Regions from separate parts of the Homo sapiens genome. Here all the other regions are linked to region 1. The links are contacts of gene promoters, found by promoter capture Hi-C in human tissues and cell types (Jung and others, 2019). All regions are on one chromosome and are shown on one strand. Each heading gives the region's core, a stretch centred on a gene start or on the middle of the fragment in contact. The rest is flanking DNA. Distances are from core to core; before and after follow the strand shown. Region 1 holds the start of TTC27 (tetratricopeptide repeat domain 27). Region 2 overlaps LTBP1 (latent transforming growth factor beta binding protein 1). Region 3 overlaps LOC100271832 (a long non-coding RNA gene).

Region 1 (5,008 bases), core at 971-3,470:
CTCACTTACCTCATTCTTAGTCTTGAATATGGAGACTTCTGGCTTTCTATCTCCACTGGGCCCTGGAACTGTGGCAGCCAGAGCCTCACCTTCCAGGTAGGAGATTTAAAGAGTCTTTTGGAGAAATCTGACCAGCCCAAGAAAAAAAGACTTTTAGATAGTGACATACAGGATCCCAATAGACTCGTCAGCCAAGGCATTCTATACTGAATCCTACAGTAGATATTTCATTGCCTGCTCAATTTCCACTCACTATGTACATATTTTTAATCGAGACCATATTCCCCACCTACTTTATTACTGGAATTCACTTTGCTTGAAGGGAGATTAGGCAGACTTCAGTCACCATCATCATCTAGCATACCACATTTAAAACAAACCAACCTTGAATTTAACTGAAAGTTGCAAGTTTACTATGTGGATTAACGGGGTGCTACATACAGGTGAGGAACTTTGGCAGAGCGGCCAGTGTGTTTTTACAGACGTTCATCTTTAACAATTATCAAATTAGTTTAGACAGTGCTGGCTTTTATACTTAAGGAAATGAACAGACAACCTGGTCAAGTATCATTTTCTAGAAAAATAGTGGGGTTTTTTTTGTTTGTTTATTTTTTTGAGACGGAGTCTCGCTCTGCTGCCCAGGCTGGAGTGCAGTGGCGCGATCTTGGCTCACTGCGACCTCCGCCTCCTGGGTTCAGGCCATTCTCCTGCGGCAGCCTCCTGAGCAGCTGGGACTACAGGCGCCCGCCACTACGCCCGGCTAATTTTTTAAAAAAATATTTTTAGTAGAGATGGGGTTTCACCTTGTTAGGCAGGATGGTCTCCATCTCCTGACCTCATGATCCGCCCGCCTCGGCCTCCCAAAGTGCTGAGATTACAGGCGTGAGCCACTGCGCCCGGCCTGAAAAACAGTTTTTAATTACTTCTCAGTGGGAGGACATTTTAGGGCATCCGCTCTTCTCCAATCACAGTCAGGTCCGGCTTCCTTTGGTATCTGATGGCAATGGCTGAAATGAGCTGAGCTGAGTTCCTCTCCCTTCACATTCTGGAGTGGCTCTTTACTGAGTAAGAAAGTGAATTAACATTTATTTAGCTTCTTCCTTGGAGCTGGGTACCGGGTCAGCCTCTTTTCAGAGAGCTTTTGCTCTTGTGGTCAGAGTTACCCTGCAGTTTTCTCCTGGCTCTTACATGACATATCTCAGTACAGGTGTCAAGCCAATGGGACAAAGCCATAGTCCTGTTTTCCTTCCCTCCTTCCCTCCCTCCCTCCCTTCCTTCCTTCTTCCCTCCCTCCCTCCCTCTTTCCTATTGCCCAGGCTGGAGTGCAGTGGCACCATCTCAGCTCACTGAAACCTCCGCCTCCCGGGTTCAAGCAATTCCCCCGCCTCACCGTCCCGAGTAGCTGGGTTTACAGGGGTGCCCCACTACGTCCGGCTAATTTTTGTATTTTTAGTAGAGACGGGTTTCACCATATTGGCCAGGCTGGTCTCGAACTCCTGACCTCAGGTGATCCATCCGCTTCATCCTCCCAAAGTGCTGAGATTACAGGCGTGAGCTACCGCGCCCGCCCTCTAACTGTTTCTTTGGAGTGCTGCTAGGAAGATTCAAAGAAGTGCAAATAAGGTACCAGCGGAGGCTGGTTTGTCTCCTTGCAATTTCTTTGTGATCACCCCTGGGATCACTCTTCTACAGCGTTCCGACAGTGTTCCAAAAACTTCCCTGCACCAGCGGCAGGGGCAGATTTCCCACCCGGCCATGATTCATGTAGAGCAGTGTCAAAACCAGATCCTTTCCTTACACGCTCATTCGCCGAAAGACCCATGCTATGCTGACGGGGTTCCAACCTGGGCTTCACCGACTCCACGTCAGAGGGTCTGTGATTCCCTGAGAGGGTACCCTTAGGCTGAGAGCAAGGGCCCACCTGCACTCTGCGCGAAGGACTGTGGTTTTCATCGGGTTGTCGAGAGCGTTCTAACCCAAAATGCTTTAAGAATCACAACTCTAGCCCTTCTAATCAAACTGCTTTGGCCAAGACGTCCGTTTTGAGTTGCATTTGAACCCTAGCCCTCGGTGGGAGGCACACTCACTTCCACGTTCACAGTTCTTGGAAGCGGTCCCACTGGGGGCGGGGCTGAGCGCGACCGCGCCCTCAACTCCCCCTATTGCCCGCCCCGGGGTGGGGCATAACCACCCAACAGGCTCCTTACTCAAGCTCGGGTTCTTCTCCTAGGCGGAAGCCAGACCAGAGAGCGTGCGTGTTTTTCCCAGGGTGCCCCGCGCTGCTGTTATGGCCGCCTCCTTGAGGTAGTATCCGCACATGGAATTCTAGGGCCGCAGGTGTATTTACGGTAACTGTCGCCACTAGATTTCAGCGCCTTTGGACTCTCCTGTTTTCACTTTCTTTTGTTGACTCCCGTGTGGCCCTCGTGGGAGCCTGTTTTGGCTGCAGCGGTGTCTGGGGTGATGTGGACCCCGGAGCTGGCAATTCTGAGGGGATTCCCCACTGAGGCTGAGCGGCAGCAATGGAAACAGGAGGGGGTCGTCGGTTCAGGTGAGAGGCGCACCTACCGGGCCTTAGGCTATCGTGGGAACTGTGAGGAAAAGGGATGGCAGCGACTGATTCTCATCCCTCCCTTCATTTTTCCCTAACACAGTCTAGCTGATTCCTTGAGGCTTTGGGTCGTTTAGTCTTTGACATGGTGGGCGTGGTCCTCACTTTCTTTGCGCAAAACTTCTTACCGCCCAGGTTCAGTAATAATGACAATGGCAATGTCAGTTATTTTTCTAAGCCCTTAACATGTACTCAGTCATTTAATGCTTATAGTAGATACTTAAGGTAGATTCAATTTTTAATCCCATTTTGCGGTGAAGATCTGTAAATACAGTTGGGTTAAGTAATTTTATTTTATCTATTTATTTATTTATTTATTTATTTATTTATTTATTTATTGAGACGGAGTTTTGCTTTTTGCCCAGGCTGGAGTGCAATGGCGCGATCTCGGCTCGCTGCAACCTCCGCCTCCCGGGTTCAAGTGATTCTCCTGCCTCAGCCTCCAGGGTAGCTGGGATTACAGGCATGCGCCACCACGCCCGGCTAATTTTGTATTTTTAGTAGAGTCGAGGTTTCACCATGTTGGCCTAGCTGGTCTGGAACTCCTGACCTCAGATGATTCGCCTGCCTCAGCCTCCCAAAGTGCTGGGATTACAGGCCTGAGCCACCGCGCCCGGGTCTGGTTAAGTAATTTATTTAAGGTCACACTGTTGGTAAGCAGAGGAGCTAAAATGAGGCAGCAAAGTTGTTTTTTTGGGGGGATGGAGTCTCCCTCTTGTTGCTCTGGCTGGAGTGCACTGGTGCCATCTCGGCTCACTGCAACCTCCGCTTCCCCGGTTCAAGCGATTCTCCTGCTTCAGCCTCCAAAGTAGCTGGGACTACAGGCATGCACCACCATGCCCGGCTAATTTTGTGTTTTTAGTAGAGACGGCTTTCATCATGTTGGTCAGGCTGGTCTGGAACTCCTGACCTCAGGTGATCCACCCGCCTCGGCCTCCCAAAGTGCTGGGATTACAGCCATGAGCCACCATGCACGGCCTAGGCGGCAATGATTTATTTTTTTTATTTTTTTGAGACAGAGTCTCGCTCTGTCGCCTAGGCTGGAGTGCAGTGGCGCGATCTCGGCTCACTGCAAGCTCCACCTCCCGGGTTCACGCCATTCTCCTGCCTCAGCCTCCCGAGTAGCTGGGACTAAAGGCGCCTGCCACCACGACCAGCTAATTTTTTTTTTTGTATTTTTAGTAGAGACGGGGTTTCACCGTGTTAGCCAGGATGGTCTCGATCTCCTGACGTCGTGATCCACCCACCTCGGCCTCCCAAAGTGCTGGGATTACAGGCATGAGCCACCGCGCCCAGCCTAGGAGGCAAAGATTAATTCTTGTGAGCAATGAATATTTACCAGAGAGATAAAGAGTTAAAAGGCACATGCACTGGCACATCTGGTTGTGGGATTTAGGCTGGACCCAAAAGAGTAATAATGAACAGTGTAGTGTGTAAGTACTCTGTGTGTATGTGTGTGTGTGTGGGCACTTGTGTGACACAGTAGGTGCTTCCAGTGACAGGAAGTTTGAACTTTGGTGGCCTGGAAAACTTTCCTAGAAGAAGTTAGACTTGAGCTGATTTTGGATTAAAGGGTAAGACTAACAAGTGGAGAAGAGTTCAACAGGCGATATCACAAGTGCAAAGTGTGGAGGCAGGAATACGCATGGGACATTAGGGAAACAATGAGTAAACCAGCGCTCTTGGAGTGACTTTTCAAGAAGAGAAAATAATGGAGGTAGAAAGAACCAGATTGTGAAAAGTTTTAGAACCTTGACTAAGGAAACTTTTGTATTGTCAGTAGGAATCTTTGTGAATTTCCCAGCAAAAGACTAAATACCTATTAATGAGGAATATTATTTCTGGGGCTGACTTCCACTTTGGGGCTCATAGTCAGTATGAGTGAGCTGCTAATTCTAGGAGAGAGAATGTTTGTAGAATGATGGAAATTTACTGAGTGCCTTGTGACTGACATACAGTAATCATTCTAAGTCTATAGATTGTTTTTGCACACTAAAATGGTAGATTTACCTAATAGTGTTATCCTTTACGGTATGAAAAATAATTTTTTTTGGATTACCGCACTAATTTTTTATATTACAGAGAGTGGATCTTTCCTACAATTGCTACTGGAAGGGAACTATGAAGCCATATTCTTAAATTCAATGACTCAAAATATTTTTAATTCAACAACAACCGCTGAAGAAAAGATTGATAGCTACCTGGAGAAGCAGGTAGTAACATTCCTGGATTACTCAACAGATTTGGACACAACGGAAAGGTAGAATTTTATTTGAAATTTTCATAGAGGAACAGAGCAAATACATTTAATAGCACCTTGACAGGGTAAGGCCCTGATTTTAGCAGTTGAGAAACCTTGCCTTATATTTTACTCAAGACTCATGGTGTACCAAGTAA
Region 2 (5,008 bases), core at 1-2,500, 390 kb after region 1:
TTAATTGTTCTCATTGGATTGAGGGGCCTGTGCTCCTGCATAGGGCTCCCTCTGTGCAGAGACAAGGAGGTGGGAATCCCAGAGGTTGGGTGAGCTTCTGCAGGGGTAGACCAGTGAGAAGTGAGGGTGGAAAAGGGGGTTTGGGTTAGATGTAGATGGCCTTAACATTTACCCTTGGTCAGCTAAAATGTGTGGAAAGTTTTTGAATGAAAGGGAAAAAAATGATTCAAAGAGTAGCGTTTTAGAAGACTAGTCTGTCCGCAAGCCTGGATTAGGTTTTTGTTCCTAACCCACTACTTTTCAGACTTGGCTGTATATTTCAGTCACCTGGGGAGTTAAAAAAGTACTGAAGCCTGGAGCCCTCCCCCGCTAGAGATTCTGATTTAATCTGTTTGGAGTTAGGCCTGGGTTTGGGGAGTTTTAAAAGTTCCCCAGGTGATTCTAATGTACAGCCAAGCCTGAGAACCACCGCCCAATCCACTGATAAGATCTTGATATAGCCTCCACTCAGCCTCCACTCATCGAGCTGAACCACAGCACAGTGCTGGCCAGGAAAAAGCAATCAACTGATGGGAAAAAAAATAAAATTAAATTAAAAAGTACTTCTGGCTGGCTGGGGGCAGTGGCTCATGCCTGCAATCCTAGCACTTTGGGAGGCTGAAGTGGGTGGATCACCTGAGGTCAGGAGTTCAAGGCCAGCCTGGCCAACATGGCGAAACCCTATCTCTACTAAAAATACAAAAATTAGCTGGGCATGCATGCCTGTAATCCCAGCTACTTGGGAGGCTGAGGCAGGAGAATTGCTTGAATCTGAGGGACAGAAGTTGCAGTGAGTCAAGATCGTGCCACTGCACTCCAGCCTGGGTGACAGAGTAAGACTATGTCTCAAAAAATAAATAAATAAAAATAAAAGGTACTTCTGTGACAATATTTATAATATTCCACATAGTCCAACACCTTAGTTATAATAAGTTTTCACGTAAATGCTATGAATTTTTGCATTGGCCATGAAGTAGATGGGGACAAATGTGTAGACTTTTGGCAATGTATAGATATGGAAAATGACATCTAAAATTGCAATAAAAATGGCAAGATAAAACACTTTTATCATAGCCAAGAATTCAGTAGCCTAAAAGCAATTACAGCATGAAAGCTTGCAAGTATAAAAATATAAGTCCTCAGAAACTTGCTGCTGGAAGACCTGTTTCCAGATGTTGTGTGTCAGTGATTCTCAAACCTGAGTGTGCATCGACGTCGCTTGGAGGGCAGTCACTGATTGCTGGGCTCCAGTTTCAGATTTAGCAGGCTTGGGGTAGCCCAAGGATATGTAGTTTCAAAGTTTTCCCGGATGATACTGCCGGCCTGGGCACCATACTGTGAGAACCACTGATGCTTGCTGCCATGTAAGAACTGCTACTGCATGGGCCCAAATATTGTAGGAAAAGGGGCTTGATAAATGTGATAGAAGGACATGAGTTGTTTTGTTTTGTTTTGTTTTGTTTTTTGAGATGGAGTCTTGCTCTGTCGCCCAGGCTGGAGTGCAGTGGCGCTATCTCGGCTCACTGCAAGCTCCGCCTCCTGGGTTCACGCCATTCTTCTGCCTCAGCCTCCCGAGTAGCTGGGACTAAAGGCACCCACCAGTACGCCTGGCTAATTTTTTGTATTTTTAGTAGAGACGGGGTTTCACCGTGTTAACCAGGATGGTCTCAATCTCCTGACCTTGTGATCCGCCCACCTCGGCCTCCCAAAGTACAAGTTTTGCTTTTTATGTCAGATGACGGGCTTCTCTTGGGAGTTAGGGAATCTGTCCTCCTCCAGTTCAATCCAGCCCCTCCTCATCTCCGTGCTCTAGGGGGCACCTGTCTGAGTCTAGGTAGGGTAGGTAGAAGAGAAAATTGTCTTTTCATTCTCCTAATTGTCCTTTTAAAATGTACTACAAAGGGAGGTATTATATACATAGCTGTAATATTATATAACACGTTCTTTACTTTTCTTCCAGTAGAAAATATTTGTAAGTTCAAAGTTTTTTTTTTTTAACTTTTATGACTGTCTCCCCACCCCCCTTACCCTACCACATGAAAAATTTGAAGAGTTAAAAAAAAATGCTAACCATCCATGTCTTCCTTAAAACAGGTTCTTGCGGCTCATTCTTGGTGGTACATTGGAGGATGTCAGTCCTTGGCCTCCCCCTAGGTGCCAGCTTTTGCACCAAACAGCCTTCCTGGTAGAAAACACATTTGCAGTGTACCTTGGGCGGGAGGAGAAGCGGAAATCATTCTCAGATGTTAAAAAGAAACATGTTTCTAATTGAAAGCATGATGAGAAGGCACACATGAAAGGGCCTGGGTGGTGAGCTCAGGCCAAGGCACAGCTTTGAAAGCCCAGCTCAGTCCTTGCTGTGGCCACTTCTGTTCTCTTGGGTGGATCCCATTCCCATTCCTGTGACATTCCAGAAATAACCATGGCTGAGCAGGGACCCAGGACAGCATCTCAGATATAGCAACAAAGTTTGCTCAGTTGGTCAGGAAACTCTGATAGTTAGAATTCTGAATTCTAGAAACACAGAGCTTTTGAACTAGAATTCTAGAAGCAGAGTGTGGGAACAGCCTTTATTCTCATATTGTGGAGACCATTTTAGAACAAATCGCTGCTGCCCTCCTCATAACCCCCAAACACACACAAGTGCAGAGGCCAGGGTTAAGTGGCTTACTCCAAGGTCACCTAGGGAGCTGGCTCCATTTTTTTTTTTCTTTTAGAGAATCCTTCCCAACTTTCTGAAAATTTGTCAGCTTGGTATTCTGACACCCAAGGGCCATTTTAGAAAAATCATTACTTGCTGTAACGAATAGGCATCATATTGTAGGAAGATGGGAAAATTATTTTGTCTCTTTTATAGAAAATCAATAGGTTTTGAGGCTTTTAGGTCTTGGTCTTTTGGATCTTCATAACTGAGTCTCCTGTTGTTCGTTTTGCTTGTCTATTTTGTAATTGCTTTGTGGACTGAAGCTTGTTTTGAACTTTATGGGAGACTTGATAGTGTGATCTGCCTCAGGACCAACAGTTTATGTAAAAGGTGAGCTGACAGCAACAGGGCAGCATAGTAAATGTATTTGAACAAATAAAGAAGGGACTGAAGGAATCATGGCCATAAGCTTATGACATTACATAATAAAACTTAAGTCAGTAGCATGTACACTTCTTTTTTTTTTTTTTTTTTTTTTTTTTGAGACCAAGTTTCCCTCTGTCATCCAGGCTGCAATGTGTGGCACCATCTCGGCTCACTGTAACCTCTGTCCTCTGGGTTCAAGTGATTCTCCTACCTCAGCCTTCCGAGAACTGGGATTACAGGCCCCTGCCACCACACTCGGCTAGTTTTTGTATTTTTAGTAGAGATGAGGTTTCACTATTTTGACCAGGCTGGTCTCGAACTCCTGACCTCAAGTGATCCACCGGGCTCCGTCTCCCAAAGTGCTAGGATTACAGGCGTGAGCCACTGTGCCCAGCCAGTAGCATCTAAACTTCTAAGGGACCTTGCCTATCATAAAACCTACTTACTCTACCAATGACCCACAGCCCTGATAACTTCTCTTTTTAAATTTTTAATTTTGAGATTGGGTTACATTCTGTTGCTTAGGCTGGAGTGTAGTGCTGTGATCACGGTCACTGCAGCCTCGACCTCCTGAGCTCAAGAGCCTCCTGAGTAGCTGGGACTACAGGTGCGTGCCACCATGCCCAGCTAATTAAATTTTTTTTTTTTTTTTTTTGGTAGAGACAGGGTCTTACTACGTTGCTGAGGCTAATCTCAAACTCCTGGGCTCAAGCGATCCTCCCACCATGACCTCCTAAAGTGATGGGCTTACAGGCGTGAGCCACTGTGCCTGGACTGATAACTTTAAAACTCTGTTTGGTCAGGAGTGTGGTGATTCAGAGTACATACATCCTTGCAAATAGGAGATGAAGAAGTTGTTTCTTTTTGGTTGCCTTTCATTATTAAATTCGGAATGGTGCCTAGCACACTGGATTTTTATACAAACTAGCAGGTGTGTTTTGGGCGACTCTCAACCTTTCTGCCCTTGGTTTTCTCGTTTTCTCGTATGTCAAAGAGTAGATTGGACTAAATTTCTGACACAGTCTCTCGAAGATCTGATAGCCTATACAACATGAGGTCTATAGGAGAGCACTTTTTGGGGTTGGGGATTGGACTGAACTTTTGTTTTTTGCCAAGTCTTGGCAAAAAATTTAGGCTTAAAAAATTTTAAATTAAATTTTAAGTTAAGCGTATATTTAAATTTAAGCCACAGAACATAACTTTAAAATAATGGCAGAGCATTTTCTTACGATTTTTCCTGGATTTTCTGATGCATTTCTGGGAGGCAGATGCAGTAAAATGGTTAAGAATGATAGCTTTGGAGCTGGCTCACTTGGTTTCAAATCCGAGCTCTTCTACTGAGTAATAATTATATAATGTTTAACAAATCACTTAATCTCTGTTTCTGTTTTTTCATCTGTAAAGTGGGCACAATAAAATATCTACAAAACACGTTGCTGGGGGATTACATTTGTTTATATATTTTAGAACAGTGCCTGTCACATAGGAAGCCATTAATATTAGCTCTCTTCCCCCTCCTCCGCCCAACTGCCCCACCTTCCTCCTTATGAGTATTTGTGTGGTTTTTTATTGGAGAACAAACAACCTGATGCTACTGTTAACCCTTTGGAAAAATTAGGAAGTCTACAATGTTGTTCTTCAAAGCTGTGCCTTCTGTTTTCTTTCTGCAGCTAGCTGTGTTCCGCCATGTCAGAATGGAGGGATGTGTCTCCGGCCACAACTCTGTGTGTGTAAACCAGGGACCAAGGGCAAAGCCTGTGAAACAATAGCTGCCCAGGACACCTCGTCACCAGTCTTTGGAGGGCAGAGTCCTGGGGCTGCTTCCTCGTGGGGCCCTCCTGAGCAAGCAGCAAAGCATACTTCATCTAAGAAGGCAGACACTCTACCAAGAGTCAGCCC
Region 3 (5,008 bases), core at 1,823-4,322, 310 kb after region 1:
GTCTTTAAACAACAATTAAATGCTTGGTCTGCAAGTGAAGTGTTATTTCTGTGTGCAGTTCACAGTCAGAGTTGGTCACATCTTTCTCTCCCACTAGCTTATTGCTTGGGTTTCTGGGCGTGTTGTCACAGACAAGCTTCATCTGTTGGCTCCTCCAAGGAGTGCCTAGAAATTCAGAGCTACTCACCCAGGGCCATATGCTTCCCAGGGCAGCCCACATCCAGGGAATGCTTCCTGTGTGGGTAGAAGCCCAGCCCTTTCAGCCTGATGTGGGACAATTTTGGGATTTGGCTCAGCCTGTTGTTTGGCAACTTGACTTCTCCCTCTGCCCAATCCTGCTTTCCTCTTTTCCTTTCCACAGGGATTGTTCCCAAGGATGTTCATTAATAAGCATCCTGTACACTAAACTCCATCTCAGGGTTCTTCTCCAAAAACCCAGTCGTGACATTCACCATGTGCCCAAGAGAGAGAAGGCTGGACTATCTCCTGAGGAACACCAAGGACTACCTCACTCACTAAAGTGAACACAGTTAGCCCTTATAGATGGGAGAGACTAAGATCACAACCATGATAATAGCTAATATTTATTAAGCACTTACCTGCCGCATGCTGCACTAAAATACGTTACTTGGATTTGCTCATTTAATCTTCACAGTGCCCTATGTATTAAAACAGGGGATTAGACTAGGGAATGAGAAGCTACGGCCTGCAGACCAAATCTGCCCACGCCTATGCCTTATGCATTGTCTATGGCTACTTTCATGCTGTAACTGCATAGCTGAGTTGTTGTGACAGACACTGCATGACCCACAAAGTTGAAAATATTTACTATCTAGTCCTTTTCAGAAAAGGCTTGCCGAATCCTGTTTTAGGTATTATTTCCATTTTACAGGTAACAAAATTTAAGCTTGCAGAAGTGTGTGGTTTATTAAATCACAGAATGTCAATTTTTAGTCATATAGATCAAAGATAAAATTCTAAGTCCCCCAACCAACTGAATGGACCCCTTCTCCCAGCCAAGGACATTCCAAAGTTAATCTGAAAAACTAGTTCAGGCCATGATGGGAAAGGGGCAGTCAGATACACCTCATTATACCGTCCTTCCTTAGGAATTCAGGCACAACTGACCAGCATCAACATTAAAACAGGCCAGGCACGGTGGCTCACACCTGTAATCCCAGCACTTTGGGAGGCCGAGGCGGTTGGATTGCCTGAGATCAGGAGTTCGAGACCAGCGTGACCAACATGGCAAAACCCCATCTCTACTAGAAATTCAAAATTAGCCAGTCATGGTGGTTCACGCCTATAATCCCAGCTACTCGGGAGGCCTGAGGCAAGAGAATCGCTTGAAACTGGGAGGTGGAGGTTGCAGTGAGCCAAGATTGAGCCATTGCATTCCAGCCTGGGCAACAAGAGTGAAACTCTGTCTCAAAAGCAAACAAACCAACAAACATTAAAACAGAGACTTAAGACTGACAAAACTGACTCTTTGCAGTAATAAGATACCAACGTGACAGATAGCAGACCCTGAAAGCAACTGAAGTATATTTTTTTTACATATTCTGAAATGGCCCTGCAAAGCCGTCTCTTGTGGGGAAAATCTACATTCTGTAGAGAATCCCCTTCCCTTTCCAGGTCTTTTCCTTGATCCAGGAGATAATTACCTGAGTCTGGCATCTTTTTAAGTCTAATAAGAAACATTTACAATCTATTTTCTCTGAAGCCTGCTACCTGGAGGCTTCATCTGTATCAGAAAATCTTTGAATCTACCTATGACCTGAAAACCCCCTGCCCCACCCCACTTTGTGTTGTCCCACCTTTCCAGACTGAACCCATCTACACCTTACCTGTATTGATTGATGTCTTATGTCTCCCTAAAATGTATAAAACCAGGCTGCATCCCCACTACCTTTGGCACATGTTCTCAGGGCCACTGGGGCTGTGTCATGGGTCATGGTCCTAATATTTGGCTCAGAATAAATCTCTTTAAATATTTTATAATTTGACTCTTTTTGTCAACAGTCATGAAGACAAACATTTAAACAGCAGCCCCCTTCTGTGATGGCAGGTGCAGACTCCCCCCTACCCCCCATGCCACTGATGGGCCTTTGTAAGTGCTCAGTGAATGATAATGAATGATTTTCTTCCCTTCTCTTCTTCCCACCATCCTTCTTTGTAAAATCGAGGCCTCCTCCTCCATCTTTGCTCTAAATCCCCTCCCAGACAAGTTCTATTTTCTAGAGACAAGCGTATCTGAAATTGCAACCCTGTGGCTTCTCTCCACCAAGTGAAAAACACAAGAGACACATCAGTTTTTGGTACCTTTGGCTATAAAACCTCTGGAGGAAGTTCTGTTTTTCTGAAAATGGCTTTCTTTTACTGGAAGAGTTAGGGTGGTAAATCTGTAGAGCCTGAGCTGGCTACCAGGAAACACTTCATGATGGCTGAGAAATTATTCCGCATGCTGAACCTTAAAGGGATAACATAAAATGGCAGTCTTGACAGACCCCTTAGAATCTAACGCTGAGATTATCTGTTTCCAACTGCTTCCAGCTGAGAAGTGGCTCTCAGGGCAGCAATGAGTACTCAAAAGCATTCCCTCATAGAAGTGATTGTTCAAGGGGGATTCAAGAGTTTAATTCCTTAATGCCCATCCGGCTGTTTCCTAGATTCTTCCAGAACATGGGCCTTATGCCCCTAAATTCACTCCCATACCTAGAAGCAGAACTGGGAACTGAGCCCAGGTTGTTTGATACCAAAATTTGTGCCCTTAACCATGCATTTCACTCCCTTCTGGTACACAAATATCCAGGATCATGTATTTACTTTTTACAGATACTGTTATATGTGCTCATGTAAATTGTCTGGCAATTAGCTGCAAGAGGATTGTAGGAAGAGATTCTACCTATCCATCTCTTTACACCATGCCTTCTGAAGAGAAGATTTTCGGAGAGAATCCTTGGATTTAGTCAGGAATATTAGATCCCTAAATAAAAATGTCTAAAATCCTTTCCCCATTCTTTGTTGTTGTTTTTGAGATAGGGTCTCACTCTGTCACCCAGGCTGGAGTGGTGGTGGTGTGATTACAGCTCACTGCAGCCTCAACCTCTTAGGCTCAGGTGATCCTCCCATCTTAGCCTCCCAGTACACCCGGCTAACTTTTTGTATTTTTGGTAGAGATGGGGTTTCACCATGTTGCCCAGGCTGGTCTTGAACTCCTGAGCTCAAGCGATCCACCTGCCTTGGCCTCCCAAAATGCTGGGATTACAGACATGAGCCACCGTGCCCAGGCTGTTTTTTATTTGTATAAATTTAAGGGGCAAAACTGCAGTTTTGTTACATGGGTATATCGGGTAGTGGTGGAGTCTGGGCTTTTAGTGTGGCCATCACCTGAATAGTATATGTTATACCCATTAAGTAATTTCTCATCCTCATTCTTGGTTCCTTAAAAAACAACTGGCCCTCAAAAACGTCTAGGGAATGGTGTACAAATGAACGAATGAGTCAATGGATGAAAGAATTAATTAATCAATCTCCAGACCCTTGACAACTTAAGGATCTTGGGCACAGTTTATGCTCATGATAAACAAACAAAAAAAAGATAGTCAGCAGTTTTCTTATTGTGACATAGGCATCAGAAGGTTCACAATCATTCATTTAACAAACACTGAACCTTGACCATGAATTGCACACCGTATTAGGCACGGAGGACGTGACACGCAAGGTCTCTGTCCTCAGCACAGGCAGGACTCCAGAGATGAGGCTGAAGCATGGAACGTAGTGTGGCCACAGGAAGCTTCACCTGGGGCTTTGGCCAGTTGCTCATATGTAAGGAATAGAACATAGGGAGACATACAAAGATAGAAGATACCCTTTCTAGGAAGTGAAATGGGAGTGCAACATCCAGGTCGAGGATTGGGAAGGGTTAAGTGTAAGGTTCTCTGGCAGCTGGAAGATGTAACCCGATCCGTCTCAGCAGTAGCTTTTTAAACCTGGGCTTTAAAACCGGGAAACCTGGAGGAATCACAGACGCTGGGCTGGTTTTACTGGTCTCCCCTCTCTGCTTAGAAAGACAGCTCATGCCTTGTATAGCTAATGTTTCTTTGGTGGTGAGAGGGACTTCTGTATATTGCTCAGTTTATCCATATTGTGATGATTTGTACTAGTTGCAATTCTCAGAGTATGTCCTGATCTCCACAAACGGGAAGTTGAGAGGACAACAAAAGAGAGATGTTTTAAAAGCACTATTTTAATGACATAATTCTGTAAATATTACAGTGTTTAGACACAAATATAACAGGATTCTTTCTACAGAACTTTTTAAACCATTAATTTAGGATTAGGAAACTCCCCTCACTCCCCCTAGGGCCACTGCTTGATTTGGTTAAAGCAACTTAATTCAGGTTAGGGTAAAATTTAAGCAAACTCCATTGCTCAGCAAAATGCTGCCTGAAAACAGCTAAAGACAGGTCAGAATGTCCCTAACCAAACCTCAGGCATTATTAACCAAGACCTGCCTTAATTCTGGTTTATCTCATGATGACCAAGGAGAAAAAAGTCTTCCCCTGCTAGAAGTATTCTATGTCTATCACAAAGCAAGGATTGTGTGTTCAATGGTCATAAGAGAATGGATAATATACATAAGAGTTTAGAAGAGAGAGTAAACTGAAGTTAAGGTCATTTCAAAGGGCTTCATGGATGAAAGGATCTCAAATTCTAATTGAAGGAGAAGGAAGACTTAGTTGAGGAGGTGAGAGAATTTCAGAATGATATGAAGGGAGGCTTGGAAGCAGCAATTTGGGTGTCATATTTCCACAGACTAGTGACTGATCAGGGTCTTTTTTTTTCCTTCCAAAGAGTGAGAAGAAAAATATGAGGTTGGTGCAAAAGTAATTGAGGTTTTGCAAAGTAATGGCGAAAACCGCAATTACTTTTGCACCAACCTAAATAGGTAGATAAATGTAGTTGGAACAGAAGGTTTATTTGAGGATGTAGCCCAAGATTAGGT

What was found. Contacts are between HindIII fragments. The study calls those that stand out against the background at their distance.
Region 2: a contact is called between a fragment that was not itself captured here and the fragment with the promoter of TTC27 in region 1, in 1 of the 25 tissues and cell types used here (bladder).
Region 3: a fragment that was not itself captured here is called in contact with the fragment with the promoter of TTC27 in region 1 in 1 of the 25 tissues and cell types used here (lymphoblastoid cells).

Annotation. Positions count from the first base shown.
Region 1 is chr2:32,625,830-32,630,837 of GRCh38, forward strand. It overlaps TTC27 (tetratricopeptide repeat domain 27), which reads left to right and starts at 2,221. Exons shown (of 20, transcript NM_017735.5): 1 at 2,221-2,551; 2 at 4,694-4,871. The coding sequence starts at 2,464. It overlaps LOC124905985 (a long non-coding RNA gene), which reads right to left and starts at 949. Exons shown (of 3, transcript XR_007086273.1): 1 at 804-949; 2 at 10-127. RefSeq lists enhancers at 1,421-2,082, 1,801-1,860, 2,083-2,742, 2,271-2,330 and a silencer at 2,581-2,710. The HindIII fragment of the contact is 9,918 bases long and covers 1-5,008 here.
Region 2 is chr2:33,016,130-33,021,137 of GRCh38, forward strand. It overlaps LTBP1 (latent transforming growth factor beta binding protein 1), which reads left to right. Exons shown (of 34, transcript NM_206943.4): 3 at 4,780-5,008. Among named protein-coding and RNA genes, the nearest start is that of LTBP1, 72 kb to the left of the region's middle. The HindIII fragment of the contact is 3,658 bases long and covers 1-3,079 here.
Region 3 is chr2:32,934,193-32,939,200 of GRCh38, forward strand. The region is part of intron 3 of LOC100271832 (a long non-coding RNA gene); the gene reads left to right. Among named protein-coding and RNA genes, the nearest start is that of LTBP1, 10 kb to the right of the region's middle. The HindIII fragment of the contact is 5,102 bases long and covers 522-5,008 here.